Linked DNA regions of Homo sapiens: all the other regions are linked to region 1. The links are contacts of gene promoters, found by promoter capture Hi-C in blood cells and fetal thymus (Javierre and others, 2016). All regions are on one chromosome and are shown on one strand. Each heading gives the region's core, a stretch centred on a gene start or on the middle of the fragment in contact. The rest is flanking DNA. Distances are from core to core; before and after follow the strand shown.

The links. The method cuts DNA at HindIII sites, captures the fragments that hold promoters and counts their contacts. A CHiCAGO score of 5 or more calls a contact.
Region 2: a fragment that was not itself captured here is called in contact with the fragment with the promoter of GDF9 in region 1 in 8 of 17 cell types (M0 macrophages, monocytes, M1 macrophages and 5 more); the score reaches 10.3 in M0 macrophages.
Region 3: a contact is called between the fragment with the promoter of RAD50 here and the fragment with the promoter of GDF9 in region 1, in 2 of 17 cell types (fetal thymus and erythroblasts). The highest score is 6.2, in fetal thymus.

What each region holds. Positions count from the first base shown.
Region 1 is chr5:132,864,718-132,867,996 of GRCh38, reverse strand. GDF9 (growth differentiation factor 9) reads left to right here and starts at 1,528. Exons shown (of 2, transcript NM_005260.7): 1 at 1,528-3,279. It overlaps UQCRQ (ubiquinol-cytochrome c reductase complex III subunit VII), which reads right to left and starts at 1,355. Exons shown (of 3, transcript NM_014402.5): 1 at 1,310-1,355; 2 at 962-1,128; 3 at 1-509. The coding sequence starts at 1,115. The coding sequence ends at 415. RefSeq lists enhancers at 1,017-1,517, 1,518-2,018, 877-2,076. The HindIII fragment of the contact is 4,688 bases long and covers 1-3,279 here.
Region 2 is chr5:132,378,623-132,381,901 of GRCh38, reverse strand. All of the region lies in intron 2 of SLC22A5 (solute carrier family 22 member 5), which reads right to left. Among named protein-coding and RNA genes, the nearest start is that of MIR3936HG, 10 kb to the right of the region's middle. The HindIII fragment of the contact is 1,566 bases long and covers 1,247-2,812 here.
Region 3 is chr5:132,555,375-132,558,653 of GRCh38, reverse strand. It overlaps RAD50 (RAD50 double strand break repair protein), which reads right to left and starts at 1,677. Exons shown (of 25, transcript NM_005732.4): 1 at 1,201-1,677. The coding sequence starts at 1,329. It also overlaps a transcript of IL5 not described here. RefSeq lists an enhancer at 1,394-2,054. The HindIII fragment of the contact is 3,439 bases long and covers 1-1,919 here.

The DNA of each region.
Region 1 (3,279 bases), core at 279-2,778:
AAAATAAAAAATAAAAGCGTCCCTGACACATACTAATTACAATATAGTTAGTAGACTTTATTGTTGCTATGGGAGCAGAGGGCCAAGAACCAGCACTCGCCATAGCCCATGTCACCCACAAATGGTTAGATGCAGGAGTACCTGCAGCTACTTTCTTGTAGATAATGGAACAAAGGGGGAGCCCTGCTCTTTCACCAAAACCCGAGACCAGGCAAAACTTCAAGACTCATGCTGAGGAGGGGCGCTTCATGAACTTGAATATTAGTGGTCACACAGGATTCTACTCACAAAAATGTAATATCACAACAGTGCAGACCATAGGAAGTTTATTGTGTCTTTGAGACACTACAATGCAGACTCCTCTTCCAGAGAAAGGTCTTTCAGAGACAGGGAACCGTCATCCGGATGCGTTGCTCATTTGTCATTTTCATAGGCAGCTGGATTCTTCCTCTTGGATCTCTCGAACTCTTCAGTCCCCCATGTGTAGATAAGATAAAACACTACAAACTCTTTAAAAATTAAGAGAGTAAACAGAGAGCACACATATAAGACATATAGAAGAAAAAAAAAGGTCTCAGTCCTCTTGTCTTCTTTAAAGCATACACTTCAGTAGTTCTTAGCATATCCAAGGCCATGCAACTATCATCACTATCTGCTGCACGTTTAACACAAAGCATTTCACCACTGGTAAGAACTAAATAAAGGTGACCTCAGAGGAACATGCTGGAATCACCCGAGTGACCTTGGGCCAGTCATTTCAGTTCTGTAGCTCAGTTTTCCCCGTGTAAGATGGGGAGGATAATATGACCAGCTTAAGGGCGGTCAGGAATATTCAATGAGAAAGGTGTGTACGGCAAGTTACAGAGCGCCTGCCCGGCCGCCAGCGCTCAGAGGGGAGGCGCAGTGACTGCTGCTGCTGCTGGGGTCCAGCCTCCCGCTCCCGCGGGCCCAAGGCACTCACGCGGCACCACGCGAAAGAAAGACTCCCGAATGCGGCGCAGAACATTGGGGATTCCTTTAGTGAAGACGTGCGGATAGGCGCGCTGCTCGAACGGTGACAAGCTGTAGCTGATCACATGCCGCATCCGCGTCAGATTCCCAAACTCGCGGCCCATTGTGGCGGCGGCCCTGCAGGACCGAGGGTGGACAGGCGCTTGGCTCGCTTTCGCGAAGCGCCGCAGTCCCCGCGGGGGTCCATCCCCAACCCCAGACTCCTGCCCCTGCACTCCTTATCCTTTCCCAGCCCAGCGGGGCGCCCCTAGCCTCCCAGGGTCCACGAACACTGCACAACCAGACCCCACTCACGCACAGGGCTCAGCTCGCCCTCCACAGTCACCGATCCGGTTGACTCGTTCGTCATTTCCGGCAAGGTTGGAAGCCGCTCTTGGAGGTCGTGAGGTAACTTCCGGGAGATACCATTTTCCTACTGTCTCTAAGGGATGACGCCTTTGTCCCAGAAAGAAGTGGGCTGACTGGGTGACCCGTAGGTGGGAGGTGCCTTGGAGGCCCTGCCCGGGCCGGTGGGGTGGAGCCTAGCGGAGGACGTCGGGGATTGAACTGACTTTGGGGGACAGTGGACAGGCGGAGGCGCTCACACTTCTCCTCAGCCCTCGGCTTTTCTGTGGAATCCCAGTCAGGAAGCGGCCGAATGCGGGAGGCGGGGGAGGGAACAAAAAGGTGACGAGGAAGGGGCCTGCCGACCTCCGGGGCAGCGCTGGCCAGGAGCTTGGGGCCTGCGAGTCTTCCCAGCTGTAGACAGAGCGCCTCTGAGCCCCGAGGCCGGGCCGCCCCACAGCAGAGGAGCACGAGGTTTCATTTGGCCTTGGCCAGTAGCTCAAAGGGGGCTTCGTTATTTTCAGGCCATGAGCGACCCCAGCACCAAAATCAGGGACACACATCGAAGGCTTCTCTTGGACTCTGTTTTAGAGTCCCCTGGCAGGCTGTTAACGTTCCCAAGAGATAATACAAACGTTTCGTCAGTTTCAGCCACAAAAATAATCAAATAATCGTCAATTGATGAATGCTGAGGCCGCCTCGACAGCAGCCAGCGTCCTCCCCAGATGGTTTGCGTGGGGTGGGGGGAATCACGATGCCCCAGTTCTTTCTTCTCCCCACGTGAGAAGCAAGGAAAGTCGGGTGAGAGGCCTTATTATGTTTTCCCTGAAGTGCATTCTGCTTGACGATGCTGTTGTCAATGTACAGCTCGCCCTGAGGTGTCTTGTCAGTGTTTTGTTAATGGAATTGCTGGCCATATTTTATCTAGGACTAAGCTCTCATTCAACAGTTGGCTGTGTTTTATAACACTACTTACGGACCACGGAGGCTCGGCAGGCAGTCAACTTGTATTTTGCAGACATACCTTAGTTTTCTCATGTAGGTACTGCACAAACTGGCTTCGTATCTTGCACTATGAGTGTAGGCTGACTCTTCCAGCATAGTCTCCTTCGGGGTGGCGCTGAATATCCCCTCATTTCAGCTTTTCATGGTGCTCCTTTGCCTCATTTTTTTAAACCATAATGTCTAGCCTGGTCTCAGCTCCAAGGCAAGAACAGAAATACAGGTAAGGACAGAAATATTGTGGCAAATTCTACCACCATTTGGATGAATAATAATAAAACGTTCATTTATTTTATAGCATCTGCAAACATCCCAAAACCTTTCAACCAAAATATGTATAGATGAGTGTGCAGACCAAAGTAAGGACATCAGTATGTTACATTTAAAAATAAGTCAAGGTTAAAGGCGGTGTCCTCTTTTAAGAACATCGCAAATACAATTCCAGTACTCCAAGTACGTATTCTGTACCCAGCCACCTGGGAGGACTGAGAGACCTAATGGTTTTCTGCTTTCTGGAACTTCTATGCCAATTGTGACTTTCTCACCCAAATTTGTAAATTCGCAAATTAACATGCAGCGAATAATTACAATTGTAAACACCTGGAAGTGGAAAAGGCCGTGAGGATAAATTGAGAGGAAGAGTAAACCTAATACCATAAGTTGCATACCAGCAGATCTGAGTATCGTCATGAATAATTGGTTAGCTTTTCCACATGCCTTAGAAGTTTCAGCAAGCACCTAGCGAACATCTTAATCCAAATTTCTCAAAAAATGAGAGATTTTATTTAAGATCATTCCTCAATTTATCTTAGACTTTCAGCTACATAGTTAGTCCGGTAGTGTAACAGTAACGGGTTTTACGTAAATGCCAGGGGAAAAGAGAGGAAAGCTAAATAACCAAGTAAATCTGTATCTAATTAACAAATTGGCTAAATAAGGTGT
Region 2 (3,279 bases), core at 780-3,279, 490 kb after region 1:
CCTAAGAGCTCCCTGGGATGGTAGGGAAGAGACAGATCCAGAGAACCCTTTACATAGCACCAGTCCTTGGCAGTTCAGGGTTGGGGCCAGAAATGTTTGCTTTTAAAGTCTGTCAACAAAATGGCAAACACACACATACCTGGAAACAGGACACAGCAGTCTACTTCTTCCTAGAGTTGTGCATCTCTTACAAGTCAGACGCATAAAGATAACTCAATAGTGTTACATAAAGGGCTTTGACAACCCAGGAGTACTTTAATTGCTCTTGAATTTCAGACATATTCATAGGCCAGAAAGAAGGTGAAACCTTTATACTATATAAAAAGTTACATTGATGTCCTAGACAAGTTAGGGCATGAATTGATTGCTTTCAGGTAATCTACTTAGCTTAGGTTTTAGAACTGGTTTACTCAGAAGTAATGCACTCAGAAGCTGTCCATCCCACAGGGCCCTGGGCCTTCCAAGGGGGCACAGACAGGCTTGAGGCAGGGCATTGGGAATTGAAGGCAGGGGCTGCAGGCAGAACAGCCATACTTTTAGCCACTTAGGGTGTATTTCATTTACTAGACTTAAATTATCCTACTTTAATGAAAGTTCTGTGGCCAAAATGTTTAGAAAGGTTTGAAAAACACTATATTAGCCCTTCTGTAGACTAAAGTGGTCCTAAACACACTCACAAATTTTGTTTCCAGTTTCCCTGGGAATAGACCTTTTGGAACTTAAATGCTTTCCTCAGGTAATCATTGTGTCACATGGCAAGAAGGTTCTTAAGCTGACCCATGACACAGCTGACCCAGAAAAATACACTGCATTTCTACTCTGAACTTGGGGTATCTCCTTTTCACATCAAGGGCATTCTTCTGAGCCGCAGCTGTCACTTAGCTCCGTGAGAAGGAATCTCCCATGTCCACTCAGGTGGCCTCTAAGCATAGCACAATCCTCCCCCAGTTCCCCCCTCCCCTCCCCACTCCCCTCTCCCCAGGCAACCTCATCCCTATCTGGGGCTCTGCTGAGGGTTCTATATGCTGACAAATCCTACATGTGTTTCTCTAGCCAAAACCTCTCATGCAGTACCATATCCATACAGCCAGCTTCACACTCTACTTCTCCACTTAGGGGTCTCATAGTCACCCCAAATTTAGTACACACAAATTGAACTCAATATCCATGAACGTGGTTCTTTTCCAGCATTCTCTGTCTTAGAGAAGTGTACCTTCATTCACCCAGTTACTCAGGCCAGAAAGCTTTCTTCCCCCAATTCCGACATCCAGCCCATCGGCAAGTCTTGTTGATTTTACCTCTTACCACTTCCCTCCATTTCTACCACCGTCATGCTAGGCCATGCCACCATCATCTCTGGCATGAACTACTGTGACAACCTTTTAATTGGTCTCTCTACAACACCTTTTGCTTCCCTTCAATTCTTTCTTCACAAGGTTGTCAAAGCATCTTTAAAAAAAAAAAAGGACAAATCTGATTGTCACACTATTGCTTTAAAAAATCTCAGTAGCCCACCGCTGCTCTGTGGCTGAAGCCCAAAGTCCTAACTGTGATCCACTAAGCCCTGGTTGCTCATCTGCCCAGGGCTCTGCCTGCCTCTCCCCTTCATCTTAACACCACTCTCCGCACCTCTACCACACGGACTTTGTCCTGCTCCCATGCCTTTTCATGAGCCCCGGCTTTAGCACTTGCTATTCTCCCTGCCTGGATGTTCTTTCTCCTCTCTACCCCTCAGCTGGCTACTTTCGACTCATCTTCCCACTCTCGCTCATGCTTCACCTTCTCAGGGATGCTGCCCCTGACCTCCTCTGTTAGACACTCCTGTGGCACCCTGCACTTCTCTGTATCTCTTACCATGGCCAAGGACAACAACGACTTCCTCACTTGGTTGTTTAATACATTCCACCTTGCTAGAAAGCAAGTTTTAGGACAGCAGGGACCTAGAACAGTAGTCCATACACAATAGAGGAGCAAGACTACCTGGGTCCAAATCCTAACTCTGCCACTTGCCAGCTGTGAAACCCTGGGCAAGTTATTTAATCCCTCTGTCTCACTTTCTCCATCTGTAAAGTAGGAATAATAAACAGGTTAACCTGCTTTTTAAAAAAAAATCTGGCTGGGCAGGTGCAGTGGCTCGCGCCTGTAATCCCAGCACTTTGGGAGGCCGAGGTGGGTGGATCACCTGAGGTCGGGAGTTTGAGACCAGCCTGACCAACATGGAGAAACCTTGTCTCTATTAAAAATACAAAATTAGCTGGGCATGGTGGTGCATGCCTGTAATCCCAGCAACTCGGGAGGCTGAGACAGGAGAATCTCTTGAACCTGCGAGGCAGAGGTTGCAGTGAGCCGAGATCGTGCCATTGCACTCCAGCCTGGGTAACAAGAGTGAAACTCCTTTTCCAAAAAAAAACAACAACAATAAAAAATATCTGGCTGCGCATGGTGTCTCACGCCTGTAATCCCAGCACTTTGGGAGGTTATGGAGGGAGGATTGCTTGAGGCCAGGAATTAAAAACCAGGGAAGATGCTGGGACTCCTTTCCACCGGCTAACCCACCGATTTGTGGGGTGTTCTCACATGTGTCATGTGGCCAAGGACTTGCTGAAGGCTGCTACTCTCTTCACAGTCTTCTCTGACAGACCCTGAAGCTCCAGGGAAAGAAGACACAACATAATGGACCCCTCTAAGAACTTCATGAAAGCTACGGACCTCTCTCCAAAAAAATGCTCACATGTAGTCTCTAACATTGTGCATATAATTTCGAGGGGTTTGGGATTCTCTAAGCCGTTAATGTTTCCTTGAGTTAAAAGCTTTAGAATTATACAAATAACCTGCTTATAAGAAATGGATCAAAACACTATTCTCCCTCCTGTCATAAAGTAAATGCCAAAACCACAGGCCACTTAGCTAAGGGGCATCAGCCTTGTGGACAAAAGAGTTCTGCTTTTCATACCACTAGTGGCTGGTGAGAGCTCCTTTCACTTTGCAGAGAGAATGCTGGTCTTCTTGGGACTACAGAGGCAGACACCGTGGCACTACTACAGATCTACAATCTAGCACATGTGCATGTGTGCATGATGTCAACCTCTCCCATGCTCAGGGGCATGACAGAGTCACAGTGACCCAGGGGAGGCAAGCCAGGCTACTGCAGAAGTGAATCATGGCATATTACCTAGTCAACCGGGTCACAGATACATTCAGCTTAGACAGCTCAGGTTTCTTTACTTAGCAAGAATTACGGAGTCAGATTTGTTGGCTCTTCTTACTAGGCATGGAGTC
Region 3 (3,279 bases), core at 428-2,927, 310 kb after region 1:
CTGCAACCTCCACCTCCCCGGTTCAAGCGATTCTCCCGCCTCGGCCTCCCCAGTAGCTAGGATTACAGGCATGCGCCACCACGCCTGGCTAATTTTTGTATTTTTATTAGAGATGGGGTTTCGCCACGTTGGCCAGGCTGGTCTCGAACTCCTGACCTCAGGTGATCCACCCGCCTCGGCCTCCCAAAGTGCTGGGATTACAGGCGTGAGCCACCGTGCCCAGCTGTAGAAACTATTTTTAATCTCCATTTTATAAATGAGAAAACTAAGGCACAGAGCAGTGAGGTCACTCGCAAACAATCAGACAACTAATAAATGAAGCGAAAAAGCTGTATTGAGGCAGCCAGTCCTCATAAACACTATACAGTACTACTCTCCCTTCTGCTAGTATTTAGTACAATCCTAAGTACATAACAAGCATTCAACAAATAACATTTTTACAAAAACAAAAGTAAACAAGTTTGGCATTCAATTCTCAACCTTCTCTCTTTCTACACTCTTCACAAATCCTTCCTTTAGACTCTTCTCCCTGCTATACTGACATCGTCTTGCTTTTTCTTAAGCCACTATTCCTGACCAGAATGCCTCTTGGTTATTCTTTCCATTCAAATTTATAAATATTCCCACGGCTTTAAAAAAAAAAAAAAGTCAGTCGTGCACCAACGTTAAATTTTTGACTGAGTTTTAAGAAGAGAAGTTTTCCAAGTTAAGCCCCACTACATCAGTTACATTTTGAATTTATTTATTTTCCATGTATTATGTCTGGACAGTTGGCATACTTGGAAACTCTTTAGTCATGTATGTATCATTTTATAACTTTTAAAGGAATTCTTGTATGGGACAACTACTGGGAAGTGAATGCTATGCTTTGAAAGCAAGGAGACAGCGTTAAAAACATCAATACAGACCAAAGGGCATCCAGTGGGAACTGAACTCTGAGTGAGCGGCGACAGCTCCCGGTATCGTGGGATTCTTAAGTAAACCTTGTCCCCAGGCCAGGTCCGGACATCCTTCCGAGACTGCTTCAGGCAAACTCCTAAGGTCGCTGTAGCCTGCAGGCCACACCCTAAGGCACTTTAAGGGCCTACACCTGTGGAGCCCTAGGGACGCTTCTGCTCCTAAGGAGAGTTCTCAACTTCCCATTTTATTCTCCGAAAGATGTAGCGACCTGTAAACTGAAGGCGGCTACTGAAGACTTACCGTCTTTCCCGCCCCATTGGGTCCAACCAAAATTGTAAGGGGGCTGAAGAAAGTGATAATTTGCTTATCTTTGTCCTCTATTCCAAAACTCCGCACGCCCAGAATGCTCATCTTTTCGATCCGGGACATGTTTGCAAACGTTTCTAATCTCACCAGGGACCTGGAGCCCACAAAGGCTTAACTGAGGCCGAAGCAAGGCGTGCACGGGACGTGAGACCCGCGAATCTCAGGGTCAGGAGGATCCGGGCGGGGAGCGAGGCCACAGGACTGCCAAAAGATCCTGCCAGCCAACAGCGGGAGAGAGGGGGCGGGGGATGGAGCCTTTCCTCCCACACCAGCTGCTTTCCCCGCCGGTGGGGAGAGCGGAGGCGGGGACCAGCCTGGGGCTGCCCGCCGGGGACGCAAAGCCGTAGCCACAATGCGACCCCGCAACCGCGCACTCACAGCTTCCTGCCTCGGCCGCCCTGCGGATCACGTGGGCCTCTAGGCCCGCACGCGTCCACGCCGCTCTCCTGGGGCACGCCGGGAAATCAGAGTCCCGCGGTGCGTGCGCAGCTCCGACTTCCGGGTGCGGTACGGCGAAGCAGAGGGCTAGGTGCTGGGTGCTGTTGCCAGGGGCAGCGGACTTCCGGATCTTTGCTGGGGATGGGCAGCCTGGAGAGGCACTGACTTTTGGAAGGGGAGACCAAGACCTGTGACGGATGGCGCTTCCCAAAGCTTGATCCTGGGACTCCTGGAATGGGGGTAGTGGTGGGGTGGATTGGAGACCCAGGAAGCGGGGTCAGTTCGTGTCAAAACTATTTTCCTTTTCATTCTCATTCTCTCTCTAACGTTCGTGTAGTAATTTCCAGTGATCACATAACATGTGATGACGCCATTGCAGTGGCGGTTAATGGAATGTGCGCATGTGTATTCTTGCGCTTAGAAATACCAATTTTAATTTCTAATTGAGTAAATGTTGATAATTATAACTCACGTACACGCTCTTTGAGGTCCCCCGTAATTTTTTAGTGTAAAGGCGTCTTTAAGACCAAAAGTCTGGGAACTAAAACTAAAAGCAGTCTGCAAATATGAAGAATGTAGAGGTAATCCATTCCGATCAGTGCTCCCAGCAATAGATATCTTTAAAAATAAGGGAAAGAGAAGTTACCTGTCTCAGAAGTAACTGAGAATATTGCTTTCTTGGAAACAAACTTAATGGAGGGATATCACATTTAAGGGCCTAGAGAAACATACATAAAAATTACTGAAACAATAGTGGAGGACATTTAAATGAAACACAAATTTGGAATTACTGTAGTGGTATAATTTGCCTCTGCCTGCCTTGGAAAAATGTAGGAAATGTTTCTCCAGTCATACAATCCCAAGCAAATAATTTACAGAACCTAATACATAAATGTATGTGCCAAAGGATGCAAGTGGGGAAGACCAGTGAGAAATAGTCTCTTGCTGTACCAGGTTAAAAAAAACCGGAAAGTGTCAGTTATTACAAAATAGTTAAAATAACTAATGGAACAAAACATTAAAATTATATAGGAATGTCTTACTTGGCAAAGCAAATGTAATAAAACAATGGGAAAAGACGAAAGACCTTTTTTTATTTTAAAAATTGTAAAATACACATAAAATTTACTGTCTTGGCCAGGCGCGGTGGCTCACGCCTGTAATCCCAGCACTTTGGGAGGCCGAGACGGGTGGATCACGAGGTCAGGAAATGAAGACCATCCTGGCTAACACGGTGAAACCCCGTCTCTACTGAAAACACAAAAAATTAGCCGGGCATGGTGGCAGGCGCCGATGGTCCCAGCTACTCAGGAGGCTGAGGCAGGAGTATGGCATGAACCCGGGAGGCGGAGCTTGCAGTGAGCCGAGACCGCACCACTGCACTCCAGCCTGGGCAACAGAGCGAGACTCCGTCTCAAAAAGAATTTACTATCTTAACCAAGTGTACATTTCAGTGGTGTTAAGTATACTCACGTACAACCGTCACCACCTTTCAACCTCTACAAATCTTTTCACTTTGCAAAACAAACTACCCATTAAACAATAACCCTTTCCTCCCCACATCCTCCAAACCCT